Regions from separate parts of the Homo sapiens genome. Here region 2 is linked to region 1. Evidence: promoter capture Hi-C in 16 types of primary human blood cells and fetal thymus (Javierre and others, 2016). All regions are on one chromosome and are shown on one strand. Each heading gives the region's core, a stretch centred on a gene start or on the middle of the fragment in contact. The rest is flanking DNA. Distances are from core to core; before and after follow the strand shown.

What was found. The method cuts DNA at HindIII sites, captures the fragments that hold promoters and counts their contacts. A CHiCAGO score of 5 or more calls a contact.
Region 2: a fragment that was not itself captured here is called in contact with the fragment with the promoter of NHERF4 in region 1 in 1 of 17 cell types (naive B cells); the score reaches 5.2 in naive B cells.

What each region holds. Positions count from the first base shown.
Region 1 is chr11:119,183,889-119,187,842 of GRCh38, reverse strand. NHERF4 (NHERF family PDZ scaffold protein 4) reads right to left here and starts at 2,368. Exons shown (of 11, transcript NM_001168468.2): 1 at 2,333-2,368; 2 at 1,891-1,918; 3 at 1,678-1,751; 4 at 1,153-1,364; 5 at 384-573; 6 at 143-279. The coding sequence starts at 2,348. It overlaps NLRX1 (NLR family member X1), which reads right to left. Exons shown (of 10, transcript NM_001282144.2): 10 at 3,827-3,954. The HindIII fragment of the contact is 1,731 bases long and covers 2,266-3,954 here.
Region 2 is chr11:118,701,949-118,705,981 of GRCh38, reverse strand. It overlaps LOC105369519 (a long non-coding RNA gene), which reads right to left. Exons shown (of 4, transcript XR_007062909.1): 3 at 1,144-1,374. It also overlaps the pseudogene RNU6-376P. Among named protein-coding and RNA genes, the nearest start is that of TREH, 24 kb to the right of the region's middle. RefSeq lists an enhancer at 767-1,268. The HindIII fragment of the contact is 1,242 bases long and covers 2,163-3,404 here.

The sequences.
Region 1 (3,954 bases), core at 1,119-3,618:
TGGCACAAACTGTAGAGGGGGAGGATGGTGATAAAGGTAGGAGACCAGATAAGGAGGTTAGGCGCATGGGGAAGGAGGCGTCTTCCCGAGGTGGGGCCCAGGCCCGGATTGGGGGAGGAGAGTGGGAGACAGGCAGTCACACCTTCCTGGTGAGTTGGTTGTGAGTGAACTTCTCCACACTGACCCCATTCACTTCCAGCAGCCGGGCCCCGGGGGGCACCCCTGCCCGCTCAGCTGCTCCTCCAGTACTTAGCACCAACCAGAAAGGACCCTGATTGCCTAGAAATTAAAAAAAAAAGCAAGGTCCAGTCTGTTTCCTGCCTGCCCTGAACAGGGGCTGAGATCCCTCATCCTTGCCGCCCCCTCGCACCCTCTGGGCTCACCATGGGTGACACTGAAGCCAAAACCACCCTCATCTTTCACTATGTGGCACAGCCGGGGCCGGACCCCTGGGCCTAGGGTGGGACAGAGGTGGGCATCTTCTCCCAGCTGAGCTCGGGCCACGTCATGTGCATGCCGTGCCAATACTGTCAGCAACACCCGAGGGCTGCTGGCCCGGATGCGGCGTACCACCTGGACAGAGGGCACGTGGGCGTGGGTTTGGTCTAGACCCTCTTGCCAACCCCCAGGACCTCCCTGGAATCCACATTTTTTTGCCAAGGGAATCGGCTTTTTTTCTTTTTCTTTTTTTTTTTTTTTTTTGAGATGGAGTTTTGCTCTTGTCGCCCAGGTTGGAGTGCAATGGTGCGATCTCAGCTCACCGCAACCTCCGCCTCCCATGTTCAAGTGATTCTCCTGCCTCAGCCCTCCCGAGTAGCTGGGATTACAGGCGCCTGCCACCACGCCCAGCTAATTTCTGTATTTTTAGTAGAGACAGGGTCTTGCCATGTTGGCCAGGCTGGTCTTGAACTCCTGACCTTGGGTGATCCACCTGCCTTGGCCTCCCAAAGTGCTGGGATTACAGGCGTGAGCCACTGCGCCCAGCGGGAATCGGCTTTCTAGATGCTTTCCCTACCCCTCTGACTTGGGCACTTCTAAATCCTGGGGTGTGGGGGAGTGAGGCTTGTGCCCTGCTGCCATACTGCCCAGGGGACTGAGCAACCCGCTTCTCTTTCTGAGGTGCTAGCATGCTCTCCTGGACCACAGCCTTACCACCGCATAGTCTTCGTGTTCCACAACATCATTGTTCACCGCCAGGATCCTGTCTCCTTCCTGAAGACCCTGGCGCTGGGCAGAGGTGCCTGGGTCCACCCTGCACACCACATGCCCAGCCCTGCCCAGCTCCTGCTGCAGGTGGAAGCCAAAACTCTTGCCCTCCTCTTTGCTCAGTAAACAGAAGCGAGGCCGCTCCAGGCTCCAGGGATCTGGAGGGTGAGGTGGGCAGCAGAAAAGGGGGAGGAGAGGGCACAGCCCAAGTACAGGTTCGCCGTGTGCCTGGCAGACCCTGTGTCCTGATAGGGTGCTGGGCAGTTTCTGCCTGGTTGGGTGTTGGGTGGTGGGGTTCGTGGGCAGAGGGACTGGGACAGGAGAAAACACCCGGCCCCTCCTATCTCTACTCCCAACCAAGGCTGTTATCAGAGGGAGACCGAGTGAGTGGTTACCAAGGAGATCGGAGGCCGTGTGGAGCCGTGGTGCCTCCAGGGATAGGGAATGGTTGCCAGGGGGTGAGGGAGTTACCATAGGGGTCGTGGTCTTCGGCCAGGGAGAGGACAGGATTATCAATGCCCAGCTTTGGGTTAAACTTAAACTTCCTGCAAGGAGGCAGGGGAAGCAGGTACAAGCTGGCAGCTGGACTTGGGTCCCAGGATCTCCTTTAGGTGCTAATGGCAGTGAAGCGCTTCGCTGCCTCCAATTATTTCCTCCCCTTGCCCCAACCCTCGTGGCACTTACAGAGTTAACGAGGCTGTGTCCTGCAGATCTACTGGGCAAAGAAGTGGGTGAGAGGAGGAGAGTCACATTCTTCTCCCCAGATGTGCCTCTTCCATTGGCATAAACTAAAAGGACTCAGGGAAACCCCCAAACTCAGGGCATGCCCCCTCCTTTCTGCTCCAAAGGGGTCTTCTCTTCTCACTGCCATACACACAGGACTATTGTGCGGTCCCCTCCCTTTCTCTCCCCCCAAGTCCTTGGCACATAAATCTGAGCATATCAGTACAGGGTGTGGACCAGGAAGACAGACATATCAACTCATTACTTTTCTCCTGACTTGTTTACCTGCCTCAGGGCTCCAAGCCCCAAAATCAAGTGTGCCCTGGTCCCAAAGCTTCAGCCTCCAAGTCGGCCCCCTGCCTGTCCCAAAGTCCCCTGCAGAGGATTTCTCCTGGCCTCCTACCTGCGGCTTTCTCCATAGCTGGATCAGCAACCCAGTGCCCGGGGTAGGGACAAGGTTCATCACAGCCACTGATCCTCCCACCCATCCCCTCCCAGGTCCCGCCTCCTTGAAGACGCTGTGGAAGCAGTGGGGTAATGGTTAACGGGAGTGAGAGTCTTTTTTTTTTTTTTTTTTTTTTTTTTTTTTTGAGACCGAGTTTAGCTCTTGTTGCCCAGGCTGGAGTGCAATGGCATGATCTTGGCTCATCATAACCTCTGCCTCCCAGGTTCAAGCAATTCTCCTGCCTCAGCCTCCCGAGTAGCTGGGATTACAGGCATGCACCACCACACCTGGCTAATTTTGTATTTTTAGTAGAGATGGGGTTTCTCCATATTAGTCAGGCTGGTCTCAAACTCCCCACCTCAGGTGATCTGCCCTCATCGGCCTCCCAAAGTGCTGGGATTACAGGCGTCAGCCACCGTGCCCCGCTGAGAGTCTTATCCTCTGGAAAACTGTGTGGGTTCCTCCTGAATCTATCCCTGGGCCCCAACTTTTTCTGGAGACCCTGAATCTGACCCAGTTGCCCCTCTGTGCAGAGAAAGGCAGATTGCTGGTCACTAACTCCAAGCCTGGGGGGTAAGTGTGAAAAGGGTGATAATTCTATGGCCCATAGTATGGTTTGGCTGTGTCCCTACCCAAATCTCATCTTGAATTGCAGCTCCCATAACTCCCTCGTGTCATGGGAGGTACCCGGTGGGAGGTAATTAAATCACAGGGGCAGGTTTTCCCGTGCTGTTTTCATGATAGTGAATAAGTCTCATGAGATTTGATGGTTTTATAAAGGGGAGTTCCCCGGCACACACTCTCTTGCCTGCTGCTATGTAAGATGTGACTTTGCTCCTCATTTGCCTTCTGCCACGATTGTGAGGCCTCCCCAGCTATGTGGAACTGTGAGTCAATTAAACCTCTTTCGTTTATAAATTTTTTTTTTGACAGAGTTTCACTCTTGTTCTCCAGGCTGGAGTGCAGTGGCACTATCTCGGCTCACGGCAACCTCCACCTCCTGGGTTCAAGCAATACTCTTGCTTCAGCCTCTCGAGTAGCTGGGATTACAAGCATGTGCCATCACACCCAGCTAATTTTGTATTTTTAGTAGAGACGAGGTCTATCCATGTCGGTCAGGCTGGTCTCAAACTCCTGACCTCAGGTGATCCGCTCACCTCGGCCTCCCAAAGTGCTGGGATTACGGGCGTGAGTCACCATGCCCAGCCTCCTTTATAAATTACTTACCCTGTCTTGGGTATGTCTTTATTAGCAGCGTGAGACTGGACTAATACAGCCCAGCATGGCCAACCCCCATGCCAATATCTTGTTCATGGGCCCTTCCAGCCTCCACTGCCTCTGAACCTAGTGCCCAAGAACCACTTGCAATAGATCATGGTTGGTAGTTTAACCAGAAAGACCAAGAACAGTGCCCTTTCTTGGAAGCACCAGGCAGTAAAGAAGAGGCCACAATTGGTAGAAGGCACACGGCTTTTTAATAGCAGCAAGTCAGGTGCATCTGCCTCGAGGGGCTACCAAGCCATCATACCATTGTGGCAAAGGGGGCATGAGGATGAGGAGAAAGCACCAATGTGAGGGCA
Region 2 (4,033 bases), core at 1,534-4,033, 480 kb after region 1:
CGTACTGCAAACGAGGCTGCTGGAGGGAGTCAGCATCCTTTGTGTGCCTATAATGCAAGTTCGTGATTTGAAGCAGGGAGGGGTTAGAGTCATCTTAGCAAAAAAAAAAAAAAAAAAAAAAAAAAAAGAGAGAGAGAGAGAGAAGCTATATTATTGAAGGCCTGCTCAATTCTTAAATGTTAATACACTTGCAAATGCAAAAGGAAAGAAGAAAAGACATCTAATTTTATAAGTTTGGAAACAAACAAAACCAGACTCCAAGCAGGACAAACCCAGTCCACTGGCAAGCAGGCGTAGACTGAACGCGAAGTTAATGAAGCTGAAGTCCCAGGCACCGCACTTGCATGAGGCCCTTCAAACACCCTCATCCTAATTTTGTATTCATAATTTGATTCTTTTTCTTAAAGAGGCCTCCCCAAATTATTTAAGCTTCAGGTCCCACAAAACCAAGCTCCGCCCTCTGGCAAGTGATTATTTTGCCTCCTCTCCAGTACACAATGAGATTCTGTTTGGGACACTTCAGTGACCTTTTTGTCTGCCCGCTTACCCCATCAGAATTTACATACATTCTGGGTTCATACAAACAAAATAACGGCTCAGAGGAGACGTGAGCTGTGCTCCGTGACAGTGGCAAGGCTGCAGCCTTGGCCACAATGAGAGCTCTCGCTCTCTGGGCTTCACCCATAATAAGGACACGTGAATGGGTGGGATGACAGACAGGAAACACTTCCCCAGCTTCCACCGGGGCAGGGCATGCAACCACAGCAACCACAGGGCATGGGGCGATTATTTGACTTCCAAGTCCAAATTAGAACATCACAACCAGCTGGGCGTGGTGGCTCAACGCCTGTAATTCCAGCACTTTGGGAGGCCAAGGCGGGTGGATCACCTGAGGTCAGGAGTTCGAGACCAGCCTGGCAAACATGGTGAAACCTCGTCTCTACTAAAGATACAAAAATTAGCCAGGCATGGTGGCGGGCACCTGTCCCAGCTACTCAGGAGGCTGAGGCAGGAGAATCGCTTGAACCTGGGAGGCAGAGGTTGTGGTGAGCCAAGATTGTGCCACTGCACTCCCAGCCTGGGTGACAGAGACTCTGTCTCAAAAACAAAAACAAAAAAATCACAACCACCATTAACCACTACCTCGAAACTCTGTGGCTTCACATCGTGGAGTGGGAGTTGTCCTCAGCTCCTCATGCCAGGGGTAAAGATTCTTCATTATTCAAAAAAGGTGCCATCTGATTTGCTTCAGAAGTCTAACATTTTGTGAACCCTTTGACACTGCCGTTCCAGGTTCAGGAGTCTGTTGTAAGGAAATAATACTACAGTGCATAAAGACATGAGTACTCAGGCGTTCATTCTCCCCAGCGCTGTCTGTAAGAAAAAAAGGAATAAACTAAAATGTTTATGTTTATTCAGTGCTTAGTGATAAATAATTAAATAAATGTTGACACATCCACATAGTAGAATGCTGTGAGGCCATTAACATTAGAAGGTGGTAGAAAACATAATAACAGCCGTGCACGGTGGCTCGTGCCTGTAAATCCCAGCACTTTGGGAGGCCTAGGCGGGCAGTATCACCTGCAGGTCAGGAGTTCAAGACCAGCCTGGCCAACGTGGCGAAACCCCATCTCTATTAAAAATACAAAAATTAGCCAGGTGTGGTGGTACATGCCTGTAGTCCCAGCTACTCAGGAGGCTGAGGCAGGAGAATCACTTGAACCTGGGAGGCAGAGGTTGCAGTGAGCCAGGATGGGGCCACGGCACTCCAGCCTGGGCCAGCAAAGTGAGACTCCATCTGAAAAAAAAAAAAAAAAAAAAAAACCAAGAAAAGAAAAGATACTGACATGGAAAGGTAAACATGGTATGAATAGACCCAGGGATGGGCCCTGTGGTCCCACTCCCTGGTGTTCACACCCTGTGTAACCTCCTCCCCTGGAGCGCCGGTAGGACCTGCAACTTACTTCCAGCTAATAGACTGTGAAAAAGGTGAGGGGGTTTTGCAGACATAATTAGGGTCCTAAGTCAGTTGATTTTGAAGTCAAGGGGGCATTTTCATGGGTGGGCCTGACTAAATCAGGTGGAAGTCTTTGAAAGAGTGTCTGGGCCCTCTCAGAGGGTCAGAGACTCTCCGTCTATTACTGGCTTTGAAGAAGTAAGCTTCTCTGTGGTGACAGGGCCACTCAACAAGGAACTACTGTAGTCTCTAGTTGCTAAGGGCCATCCCTGGCTGACAGCCAACAAGAAAACATGAACCCCAGTTCTAGTCTTACAACCATAAGGAGAAGAATTCTGCCAACAGTCTGAGGGAGCTTGGGGGCCAATATTAAGCCTTAGATGAGACCAGCTGAGCCTCAGATGAGACCATAGCCCCAGCCAGCACCCGGACAGCAGCCTGGTAAAGCTCTGAAGCGGAGAACCTAGGTGAGCTGGGCCCAAATTTCTGCCCTCAGAAAAAGATGTGTGTTGTTTTAAGTTCCTTATCATGTGAAAAACAAAGAGCAGGTTATGAAATAATGTGTAGCAAAATCCCATTTTTGACTTGGAAAATGGGATCTTGACACATACTTAGGAAAAAACCTGAAACAAATACCAAAACACAGATGTTATATAAGGACTACAAAGGTATTATAAAATAGGATTAGAAAGTCTAGATACTTCAGGAATTAAAAGCATAAGAAAAGAGTAAAATACTATGACTAGGTACCATGGTTTGAATGTTGTCCTCTCTGCAATTTACATTGAAACTTCATCCCCACTGTGTCAGTGTTTTTTTTTATTTATTTATTTTATTTATTTATTTTTTGAGATGGAGTATTGCTCTGTCGCCAGGCTGGAGTGCAGTGGCGAGATCTCGGCTCACCACAACCTCTGCCTCCTGGGCTCAAGTGCTTCTCCTGCCTCAGCCTCTCCAGTAGCTGGGACTACAGGCGCATGCCACCACACCGGGCTAATTTTTTGTATTTTTAGTAGAGACGTGTTTTCACCATGTTAGCCAGGATGGTCTGGATCTCCTGACCTCATGATCCGCCCGCCGCGGCCTCCCAAAGTGCTGGGATTACAAGCATGAGCCACTGCACCAGGCCTAATTTAATTAATTTTCAAGTAAACTAATTAAGTGAAGATACAAAGTTGCAGAGAAAGAACATCTAGATTAGGCTGAGGCTGGGCACCTAACAGTTAATACCCTTTCATTTGTAATTGACATAGAAATATATTTAAATTGGCTTAAACAACAAGAAGCAGTTACTGCTCGTGTTACTGAAAATGAATGTGGTTGAATTCAGGTGGGAAACGATGCAGCTTTCAACCAGGCTTCAGGATCTGCTCCCTTTAAATCTCAGCTCTGCTCTTCTCCATGCTAGCTTCATTCCCAGGCTCTTTCTCTAACTAAAATGTAAGCTTAGGCCAGGCATGGTGGCTCATGCGGGAGGATCGCTTGAAGTCAGGAGTTCAAAACCAGCCTGGGAAACATAGTGAGACCCTGTCGCTATAAAATAAAATGTAAATGTATTGCTATTTTTATTTTATTTTTTTAATATGGAACACTTCATGAATTTGCACATCATCTTTGTGCTGGGGCCGTGCTAATCTTCTCTGTATTGTTCCAGTTTTAGCATATGTGCTGTGAACCAAGCACTGTGAATGTAAATAAAATAAAATAAAATATCACTATCATGAGGATAGTGACTTTCTCTTTTTTGTTCACTATTTAATCCCCAACACTTAAAATCGTATTTTTATTACTGCACATCATAAGCACCAAAAAAATTTCCAGGAAAAAAAGGAGGGGGCCAGGAGTGGTGGCTTATCCCTATAATCTCAACACTTTGGGCAGGAGGAGCTCTTGAGCCCAGGAGTTCAAGACCGCCCTGGGCAACAAAGTGAGACACTGCCTCTACAAAAATAAAAATTAAAAAAGAAAGAAAAGAGGAAAAGAAGGCGGAGGTATAGCAGCACAACAATTCTGGAGCAGAATAAATAAGACTATGTTAAATACATTTTAGAGAAACCGAATAACACTGAAGACAAA